Regions from separate parts of the Homo sapiens genome. Here region 2 is linked to region 1. Evidence: promoter capture Hi-C in 16 types of primary human blood cells and fetal thymus (Javierre and others, 2016). All regions are on one chromosome and are shown on one strand. Each heading gives the region's core, a stretch centred on a gene start or on the middle of the fragment in contact. The rest is flanking DNA. Distances are from core to core; before and after follow the strand shown. Region 1 holds the start of HAUS7 (HAUS augmin like complex subunit 7). Region 2 overlaps ZNF185 (zinc finger protein 185 with LIM domain).

Region 1 (5,305 bases), core at 821-3,320:
GTCTGCCCTGGGAATGGGACACTCTGGATCATTTCCTCCACCATCACTCAGGAAGTCACCCTGTCACCATGGGCTTCATAGGGTGCCAGGCACACACCATGCTACACCCTGGCCCAAAGGCACCAGAGGACTGGGAAACGGGTCACGGCACAGAAGCTGACAAGAGGTGACACTGCATGAGGACCACTTGGCCAGCTGAGACCCAGCCAGGAGCCCACGCCCTGGCCCTGCCTGTCACTCCTCCACTGGGAGACCAGAGACTGTTCATGCCTCCAGCCTGACCCTTGGCTTCCGGGTCTGAGAAGGAAAGGACTGGAATGGAGCATTTCTCAGGTGCCTGCCAGTCCTGAACCTCCAAACTCATAAGGCAAGGCAAACGCTGAGGGCAAGTTCAGCACTGCAGCAAAGGGGTGGCTGGACTAGCCCAGCACCGCCAGGGGCCACTTTGCCCCAAGTTTGATCATGCCTGTCACCAGTACTCCTTACCTACACAGCTGTTCTCACGAGGGTCCAGGCTAGGGGGTGGAGCCCTCTGGGAAGACAGCTACTCACAGTAACCACAAACCCCATCTTCCCCAGGTGGGGCTGGCTGGCGCCCATGCACACCCCAGGTGGGAAGAGGAAGAAACTGATGCATTACCGGGTACACATCCACTCTAGGATCTCCAAGCGGTACTCTGAGGGGCTGCACAGCAGTTCCTGAATTGTCTTTGGCTCTGTGATATACAGACCCTCGAGGAAGGGGCAGTTTAGGTCCTAAGCAAGGAAAAGGAAAGCAACATTCACTGAAAGTCCCAGTGTACATCATTTCATTTTATTTATTTATTTATTTTTGAGACGGAGTCTCACTCTGTCGCCCAGCCTGGATGGAGTGCAGTGGCATGATCTCGGCTCACTGCAGCCTCCACCTCCTGGGTTCCAGCAATTCTCCTGCCTCAGCTCCCAGGGTAGCTGGGGGATTACAGGCATGCGCCACCACGCCCGGACAATTTTTGTATTTTTAATAGAGACGGAGTTTCACCATGTTGGCCAGGCTGGTGTCAAACTCCTGACCTCAGGTATCTGCCCACCTCAGCCTCCCAAAGTGGTGGGATTACAGGCGTGGGCCGCCGCGCCCAGTCCTCAGTGTACATCTGCAAGCTCCCAGGACCCTTTCCTTTACCCGCGTCCTGCCATCTTGCCAAGAGTTCAAGTCCCCCCATTCTTAACCCCACATCTCCCGCGGCATGCAGACCCCACCTCTTTCAAGTACTCCCACTCTGGGCTCTTGTGGCAGCAGGACCTAGGAGCAACGCCTGAGACTAAGACTTAAGAGAGAGTCCTAGGTTTCGGGACTGAGGGAAAGGGGAGAGGGAAAGGGAGAGGGACCACTGAGCCAGTCGCGGACAGGATGGGGGAGTGTCTGGGGGGAGGAGCGAGCGGGCCGAGGGGACCTGGGACAGCTCCCTAACCTCGTGGGCCAGCTTTCCTCACTGCTGCAGTGAGGGCTCTGTCCTGTGGGGCTGTAGAGGGCTTCTGGAGGCTATCACCCCTGGCATCTGACACCAACTGACACCAAGCCCTAGTCTCGCTGACTTGACAGAGTGGCACGAGGCTCTGCCCATCTGTCCCCCCAGACCCCGCAAGATCCCTAAGGCCAGGCCTGGGTCCTCTGTGTCTGCACTTGCTCCGAGCGCCCAGCGCGGGTACTGCAGTTCCACAGGCGGTGCTGGCCCCAACTACCAGGCACGGGCCGTGGAGACAGCAAGAACGAAGGCCTGGGGCACACCAAAGGGCAAAGATGAATGATCCACAAGCACCCCCTGCTGCAAGGGAACAGGGCGCAGCCGGAACCGGCGACGGTGGCCGCGTGGCGCCGCGGACTTCCGCAGCAAGCCCTCCCGGGCCTCGGGCGGGGCCCTCCCCGGTCCCCCGCCCTGGAGTGGCTTTCTGGGCCAACAGCACCTTCAGCTTCCCGAACACCTCCACAGCCGCCCTGGACACGCTGCTGTCGCCCTCGTCCTCTGAGTAGTCGTCGCCGCCACGGCCGCAGCCAGCGTCCTGCCCCGCCATGTTTCGCGCTCCGAGCCGCGCCCCGCCCATGCCCTGGCTTCACTGGCCGGCAAGACCGCCAATCAACCTCCAGCGTTCTTCCCGCCCACCCGCCTGCGCCCACCCCCTTCCCGACCGACCCTTCCCATTGGGCGACATCTCCGCCTGCGCGGGCCCCGGGCTCCCACCCCCCGCCCCGGCACCACCCAGAGGCAGGACCACAGTGAAGCGGGCAGGGCGGACACAGGGAAGGGGGCGGGGCGGACACAGGGAAGGGGGCGGGGCGGACACCGGGAAGGAGGCGGGGCGGACACCGGGAAAGGGGCGGGGCGGACACCGGGAAGGGGCGGGGCGAACGGGCCAAGCTGGCTCTGAGTCGCAGGCCTTGCTGGCGTCGCCCCTGCTGCCGGCCGGGAATGATGATGCGTTGAAGCGAGGCTCTTCCAGGAGGGGGCGCTCCTGCCTTGGTCGGGTTCTCCTGGGCCACCACCACTAAGGGGCACCCTGGTTCCCAGGAGGACCAAGGGGAGCCTTGGGTGCAGAATGGAACTCGGACTGAAGCGTTCCTCTCCCAGCGCGGGGCTCCGTCTTCTCTTCACCATGCTCACGCTGTAGTTAGAAGGAAATTTCTTGTCACTCACCAGCTGTGTGCCTTTGAACCAGTTACCTAACCTCTCTGTGCCTCTTTGCCCTCACCTAATGGAGCTAATGAGAGCACCTTACCCACTGGGTTGCTAATGAGGATGGCAGGCGGTAATAATTCCTGTGGAATCCCTAGAACAGTGCCCGGCGCATGCGAAGAACCACGTAAATGCTCACTATTGTAATACATGCTGGGCCCTGCTCCCCTCACGGCTCCTGGGGCTACCTGTGGCTCCTTCCTATCCTGTCTACTTAACAAATTTTTCTACATCCCTCAGGACCCTCAAACTCAATGCGTCTGCAATGAAATATGTCAGTCGCTCCTCCCCCAGACCTGCAAAGCCCCCAGTTCACTGAATGCCCCTTACCCAGGGACCTGCTGATTGGGCAAGGCAGGAAGGAGTTGGAGGGTGGCTTGTGCCCAGTAGCCAGGAGACAGCAGCAGGCAGCTGCCACTGTGCCCTCCTCTGTGCCCTACCCTGCCATCTCCTGGAGGGTGGGATCAGGGGGCAAGTCTATAGTCAGGGAGACCCAGGGACCTGCTGGGAGGCAACTGCAGTCATCCAAGTGACAGGAGGGGACTTCACTCCGTCCTGGGAGGAGGGAGCGGGCAGGAGTCCGGGGGTCACAGGAAGGGACCTCAGCCTGGGAGGCCCCGACACAGGCCCAGCGAAGTGCCTCAAGGTTGCTCTCTACCCTTCCACGTGGCTGCTGCCTCAGGCCCTTCTGGTAGCTGAGGGCTGTCAAAGGCTTTGGGATTTTTTTTTAAGCGTTTTTTTCCCTCTTTTTTGTTTTTGTTTTTCTTTCTTTCTTTTTAGAAAATTTCATCTCAATCACAGCCCCAGCTCAGACATTCAAATTCTTGTGGGTTTTTCTGTGGATCTTTCCTAGGACTGGGGAATTTGGCGGAAGAAACCACGGCAGTGTGGCAGCCTCCCCCAACCCTCCCCATATTCTCTGCTCCTGAGGACCGGGAAGAAACCAGCTCCTGTGTACTCTGGAAGAAAATCTCCCTCCTCCACCCAGCTCCACGGAGCCAGTGTGCTCAACAGGCCTCCCCAACCTCAGCAGTTCAGTCTATGGGACCCTGAGGAACTGGCAGGGCCTTGAGAGGCGAAGATCATCTTGAGAGGTTATGGAGGCCATCCCCCTCATGGAGAACCTGTTGGCCAGCCCTCAGCCCCTGGAGATGGTCGCTGAAGACCCAGCAGCAGGCTGCAGCTTCCCTGCCCACGCCACCCCACCACCCACCACCCACCACCCACCACCTGCCACCCACCACCCGCCCCCAGAATCATAGCACCTCCCAGGCATCTTCCTCCGGAAAAGCTGGAGGCTGGGGAGGGAACAGAGAGGCTGCTGGGCCTCTCAGGAAGGGGGAAAGAAGGGGCCCAGAGGTAGAAGCTTCTGGAAATGTGGACTCAAGCTCAGTCCAAGAAAGCACTCCTCCCAGAAATCACTGTCTGAACACCAGCTGGCTGCCAGGAGAGGAAGGGAGCTCCCGGTCCTAGAAGGTCTACAAGCCCAGGGAGGTGGGTGGGCGGGGATGTGGAGGGTTGAGTCCTACCATGGGGGAGGGAGGGGGCACATCTCTAAGGGACATTCCAACCCAGAGACCCCAGGTTCTCTGAGGGAGGCCTGGGTGGGTCAGGAGCCAAAAATGTGGCTGAAGGACCCATTGACCTGGAGGAGGGATGTTGGGGGGAAGCTGTGGATGTGGCGGGGAAGCTGGGGGGTCCTGGTCATGGAGGAAAGTTGGCCATGCGTCCCAGCAGGGCCTCAGCCGTGTCAGTGCTTGGAAAACACGTTGGAAAATGAGACTGGTTCACGGCACTGGCCCCGCTGTGCCAGAGATGGGCTGGCGGGTGCTGGTGGCATTCGAGACCTCTCAGTTTGTGTGGTGGGCCCAGAGATATATGGCCAAACAGTTGAGCTCACCAAGTGGGCAGCCTCCCTGACCTGTGGAGGGTATTGAAAAAGTCCTCAGAGCATCCGGGCCCTGCTCTTCATATGACCTTAAGGGCAGACCCCACGGTGCAGCGGGAATCAACCAGGGACCCCCCAATCCCCCAAAGACACCGCGAATCAAAGGAAGCTGAAGTCCAAGGGCTTTCCTCTCTGCAGAGGCGGGTCTGCTTCTGGCAGGGGCTGGAGTTAGACCTGAGGGGGAGCCACCCCACCTGGGGGCGCCTAGGCCCTAGAATGCTGTCAGAGCTAAAGCCCTAGAAGGCCTTGCTCCACGGGGCCACTTCGACTCCCGGCCCTGAACCAGGGAACCTGGGGAGGAGCCTTTGAGGGACTGAAGTGTCCTCCATCACCCCCCACCCCTGGCCACTAAAGTTCCTCAGTAAGGGTGGAGAGTACCAAATGCAAGCTGTTGAAGACAAGGCAAGTGTGTGCGTGTGTGTGCGTGTGTGTGTTTTGGGGAGAGTTCAGGTCTAAGATGAGAAGCTGATCACACCCATGCGAGAAGCAAGTGGTGAGCCCTGGCATTGGGTTTGAGGGAGAAATGTGACAGAGTAATGAGGTCAGGCTCAGGACGGTCTGAGTGTGAGGCTCTCCGCAGGCAAGGCAAAGCCAGGGGGCTGCCTCTGCCTCCCCTCCCCTCCCTCCCCGTCCTGTCCTCCTCTCC
Region 2 (5,203 bases), core at 2,162-4,661, 520 kb before region 1:
GACTGGCCATGTGTTGGTGTGTGCCACTGTGCATGAGCAAGAGGACAAACGTGCCTGTTACTGGAGCTGACCATGTGGCATTGGTGTGAGAGTTTCAAGTCAGGCTCTCTTGAAGGCATCTTGCCTGCCAGCGCAAACACTGCATGTCCTTGCAGCTCTGGACACGTCAACAGGCCAGTGATTCCAGGGGTGCAAAGCGAACAGTTTCTTACACAAGACAGAAATGTAGAAGGAGAGAGCTAAGACTCATATTGCCCCGAGAGAGGAGCTAGTGGAATCCAGCAGGGCATCTGCTGTGGGGAGCAGGTGGAGCCTGGGGTTCCTTTTGCAGGGATGAAAGAAACACAGTCATCTGCCTTCTTTGTTCTGGGGCTTCTTGTACCACAGAGGTTCCATAATTATTAATAGTTAGGTTATTTTTAGGGCCTAGCTCAACTGTTAGATAACAAGTTTTACCTTCTAAGAATATCTAGCCCATCTTTGATTCCTTGGCTCCAGGCCCTGGAGGGTCCCAGTCCAAAAACAGAGTGAACAACTTTGGACTTGCTGTCACATTGTGTGGCTTCTAGAACTAGTCAGTGTTCCATGCAGAAGGGGTATAAAAAGTGAGGCTTGTGGATGAAGGAGGAGGCGAGTGGTTCTGGGTTTTGTTTTCGTTTTGCGGGGGAGTGTCAGGAAAGGCTTTCTTTACAGGGAGAGTGATGTTGGAGCTGGGTTTGGAAGGCTGAGGGAGATTTTGCCAGATGTGCCAGACGTGCTTGGGAAGGCATTCCGAGTGGAGGCTCACAAAGTGTATAGGGAACATCCAGTCAGGTAGCCATCACAAAGGAGGGTTAATCCAGCCTGGCTTGGCAGGAAGCACCAAGTAGGGGCTGGGCAGGCACCTGCTCCTAGGCTGAGGAGTGTGACCCACATCCTGAGGGCCTTGGGAGCCACCGATGGTTTTCCTGCAGGAGAGTGCCACAGCCAGACTCGAGTCCAAAGAAGATCCCTCCATTGCCCTGTGGAGGACCAGGCCAGGGGAGTATACGACGAGACAAGGCAGGAGGCCATATTGGAGACTGTTTGCTTACACCAGGGGCAAGGTGATGAGGCTGCAAGTATTTTTGAATTATTAAAGGTAAAAGCGGGCTTGGCGTGGTGGCTCACACCTGTCATCCCAGCACTTTGGGAGGCCGAGGTGGCAGTATCGCTTGAGCCCAGGAGTTTGAGACTAGCCTGGGGAACACAGCAAGACCCCATTTCTACAAAAAATTTAAAAACATTAGCCAGGTGTGGTGGCACATGCCTGTAGTACCAGCTACTTGGGAGGCTGAGGTGGGAGGATTGTTTGAGCCTTGCACGTCGAGGATACAGGGAGCCATGTTCCTGCCACTGTACTCCAGCCTGGGTAACAAAACAAGATCCTGTCTCCAAAATAAAAATAAAAAAAATAAAGATAACGGTGAGGGAAAAGTGGTAGCCAAGGTTGCTCCCCAGATTTCAGGGCTAGGCAATTGGATGGGTGGTGACAGGAACTAGCTGAGGGTAAGGAGTTTGGGGGCAGGCCCGCTGAGAGATGCACAGAGATGAGAAGGTCACTGGGCCATGCCGAATGAGAAGTGCCTGTAGGGGCTCCAGCCAGTGATGTCCAGTAGGCTACTGAGTAAACAAATGTGGAGTTGAGCAAAGATCTGACCTGGGGCTAGAGAGCTGGGAGTTGTCAGCTCATAGGAAGTCACTAAAGAGAATGCATGAGGTTGCCTGGAGAATGCCTTTGGAAGGCAGTGTGTACAAAGCATGTATTCTCGGCTTTTCTCTGCAGACTTCCAGGGACAGTTGTCCAGCCAGGCCCTTGGCTGGGTGGGTGAGTCCACGTGGTTCAGGGATGCTGAGGGAAGCTGCTTCATCAGCTGACATTTCTCTCCATTTTCTGCTCTTCTTTTGTCTCAAAAAGAAAAAAAGAGGGGATATTAATTATTGATCCCCTAAAACCCTAGCTGAATATATAAAATGAAAAGAAGTAAAAATATGAGAGAAGCAAAGGCAGATGGACCATAATTTTGGAAAATAATTCCAAAAGGTCTTAAGGAGGAAGAGGAGCTACAGAGAGGTATTGAGAAGGAAAATTTTGGATAAATGGAAGAATCAGGAAAGACTACCGTCATGGAAACCAAGCCACGCTGAGCTAACTTTCCAGTGCTCTGTAGATGCTGAAATAGGCCCATCAGATTTGGCTATGTAGAACTCATGACTGCCTTGAGGGGAGTAGGTTGGGGCAGTGGGAAAGGCTGTAGTTGGATTATAATGGATTGAGGAGGGAGCGGAGGATAAGCAGGTGCAGTTGATGGGGTACACACTCTGAAACTGGCTGTGACGTGATGGATGTGGGAGGGGTGAGCAGATAATTACAGCTACAAGATAATGGGGAAGGTTTCCTATAGGTGAAAGCAACGTGTGCATGTTAGGTAAAGGCTGGGCAGAGGGTGCCTACGTGACCAGTCCCCGATAAAATCCTTGGACTCTGAGTCTCTCATGAATTGCCCTGGTCGACAGCATTTCACACTTGTTGTCACAACTCACTGCTGAGGGGAACTGAGTGAATCCTGTGTGACCCACTGGGAGAGGACTCTGGAAGCTTGTGCCCGGGTTCCCTCAGAAATTTGCCTTGTGTGCTTTTCCCTTTGCTGATTTTGCTTCGTATCTTTTCACTATAATAAACCATAGCCTTGAGTGTGATGATGTGATGTGTCCTGTGAGTTCTTCTTGTGAATCACCAAGCCTAGGGATGGTCTTGGGGACCCCTGACACAGATGGGCAGGATCAGAACTTTATGCCATAACAAGGACTTTAGATTTTCTTTCGAGGGCAAAGAGGAGCCAGGAAGGTTTGAAGCAGGGGAGTGATATGGCGAGAGTATTGCTTTGCAATGGGATCTCCAGTGGCAGTGAGAAGAGTGACTGAAGTGGGCAGAGTGGAGCAGGGAGAAGAGGAAGTGCTTACAGCATCCTCCATGTAAGAAATGATGGGGCCTGGACTAGGGGACTAGCTGTGGAGATGGAGACAGAACTGTAAAATAAGTAGAAGAGATCCCAAATTGGATGACAGGTAAGACTTGGGAGAGCAGTGACGGAGAGGGAAGTGACAATTTAGAAAGCCACATTTCTGGTCGAGTGAGTGGAGTATGTGACCCCTCCTGGCTTAGGTGGTGGCCAAAGTATCTCTAACCTGCCTCTATACTGCCTGCAACTGACTGAGCAAATGCCTGGTCCGTGGAGATCCCAAGCTGACAAGGGCACCTGAGGCAAGCCTCTGGCTTTCAGGTGGAGGCCCTACCTAGGCTGGCCTGGCTGGATTGCCCTGGCACACTGCTGTTTTGCTGAGGCAGACAGCAGCACTCTGCAAGTGCTCTTCTCCTGTTCCTCTTAGTGGTCTAAATCCTGTAGCATGCTGGGGTGCGACTGTAGACAAATCCCCTTTCCGGGCCCCCTGGGGTTCTCTATTTGCAGTCTTTGGGTCTGGTCACTGGCATGGCATCTCAGTAGGCTAGGTTCATCAGGAAGGGTCAACTATGTCATGGCACCTGATGGGCAGCATTTAGAGTCTGTGGGCCAGGGGCTTAAGGGCTGCTTACTGCTAATAGTTCTAAGTAGCAAGCATTCCCTCAGCCCTAGTCTGGGCACACGCCAGGAAGAAAGCCACTAGATGTGCTCTCCTAGTGGATAACTAGCCTGGAGTTCCAAGAAGGGCAGAGACAGGCAGAGTGAGAGCCTTCAGAGATGTAGGCAACGATAGTAGCAGAACTTCGAGGGAGAGTAGATGGAAAAATTAAAAAAAATCCTTGTCATTATTTTTAAATGTCTGAATTGACCAGATTAGAATCTTTGAGAGTCTAGACACTAGGGAGATCTCATGGGTGGGCCAGTTATTATATCATATGGAGGGAGAGTACGTATGACCCAGCACGAGAGGACCAGAGGACAGTCAGTGCTAAGGGTAAAACCTTAGGCCATGGGAGATTGAGTTTTTCATCAGTTGGCAAGTTTTCACTTTAATACTCCACTGTTTCCATCATTTCAGACGACTGGGGATGATAAGGACAATGTAATTTGGGGGATAAAGGAAGAACTCATTATATTTCTTGGATGACTTTACTGGGGAAATGGATTCCTTAGTCATTTGAAAGAAGCGGTAGAATTCCACATGTGGGGAATACTTGTTCTAACAAAAGCTTAATAACATTAGTGGCAATGATCCTTTTATATAAGGGAAAGCTTCAAGCCAGTGAGAAAAACATAAATAAACTAGTAAGAACATATTTATAACCATGAGATTTGGGTGCAGAATAAAATCAAATTGGCAGTTCAGGAAAGGTCCTAAACATCTGTATATTAACAATATTCCATCAGTGAGCAATGTGAATTTCCCATAATTGAAATGATGATTGATAACCTTGTATTGTTCTTATCTAATATAAGGCAAAGCAGCACTGGGGCTTTGATAAAGAGCAATATCTCATGTACACTGAGGACACTGAAACCCCGCTAGGAATTCTATGGAATTTCTAAAATATTTATATTAAGGACATTTTACCCATTATAGACTAATTTAGGGAAGGTTCTGCATTTTTTTTTTGATTTGACAATGTTTCCAATGCAATTTATACAATATTAAATAAGACTAATTAGTTTTTGCACCTTTCTTGTTACAAGGTGAAAGAACTAATCCTTTGAGATTTTCCAGAAGGTCCCTGGCAAATCCCAAAGCCAGTTTTAGGTATAAAATATATTTAAGTTTTGATTGTGGGAAGGCAAATGTTAAGAGTTGTCAGGAGTTCTCGAACATTTGATTGAATAGCATTATGGGTTAGCGAGAAATACTACTTGGTTAGCTAGTGAATCAGAGTTGTAAAAATTTTCAAGTAAACATATGAGGTAACATGGTTGTAAAGAATCTTCAGTTCCTTTAAAATTGAAAAGACTTTAAAAAAATAACTAAGGACATAATAAACTGAACATACAGATAGGGCATTACAGTATTTTGATAAGACATAAAATCTTTGCCTCTTAGGCAGATGACTCAGAAGAAAAACAGACCATTTATAACTTTTTATTAGGGACAGACCAATGATCAAGAATTTTTTTTTTTTTTTTTTGAGATGGAGTCTTGCTCTGTTGCCCAGGCTGGAGTGCAGTCGCGCGATCACCATGTTGGCCAGGCTGGT

Evidence for each region. Contacts are between HindIII fragments. The CHiCAGO score rates a contact against its expected background, and 5 or more counts as called.
Region 2: a fragment that was not itself captured here is called in contact with the fragment with the promoter of HAUS7 in region 1 in 4 of 17 cell types (M1 macrophages, M0 macrophages, monocytes and 1 more); the score reaches 8.1 in M1 macrophages.

Annotation. Positions count from the first base shown.
Region 1 is chrX:153,468,506-153,473,810 of GRCh38, forward strand. HAUS7 (HAUS augmin like complex subunit 7) reads right to left here and starts at 2,071. Exons shown (of 10, transcript NM_001385482.1): 1 at 1,945-2,071; 2 at 641-756. The coding sequence starts at 2,052. RefSeq lists enhancers at 1,363-1,542, 1,693-1,792, 2,306-2,600 and a silencer at 2,123-2,432. The HindIII fragment of the contact is 16,714 bases long and covers 1-4,075 here.
Region 2 is chrX:152,945,970-152,951,172 of GRCh38, forward strand. The region is part of intron 18 of ZNF185 (zinc finger protein 185 with LIM domain); the gene reads left to right. Among named protein-coding and RNA genes, the nearest start is that of PNMA5, 46 kb to the right of the region's middle. The HindIII fragment of the contact is 1,593 bases long and covers 2,616-4,208 here.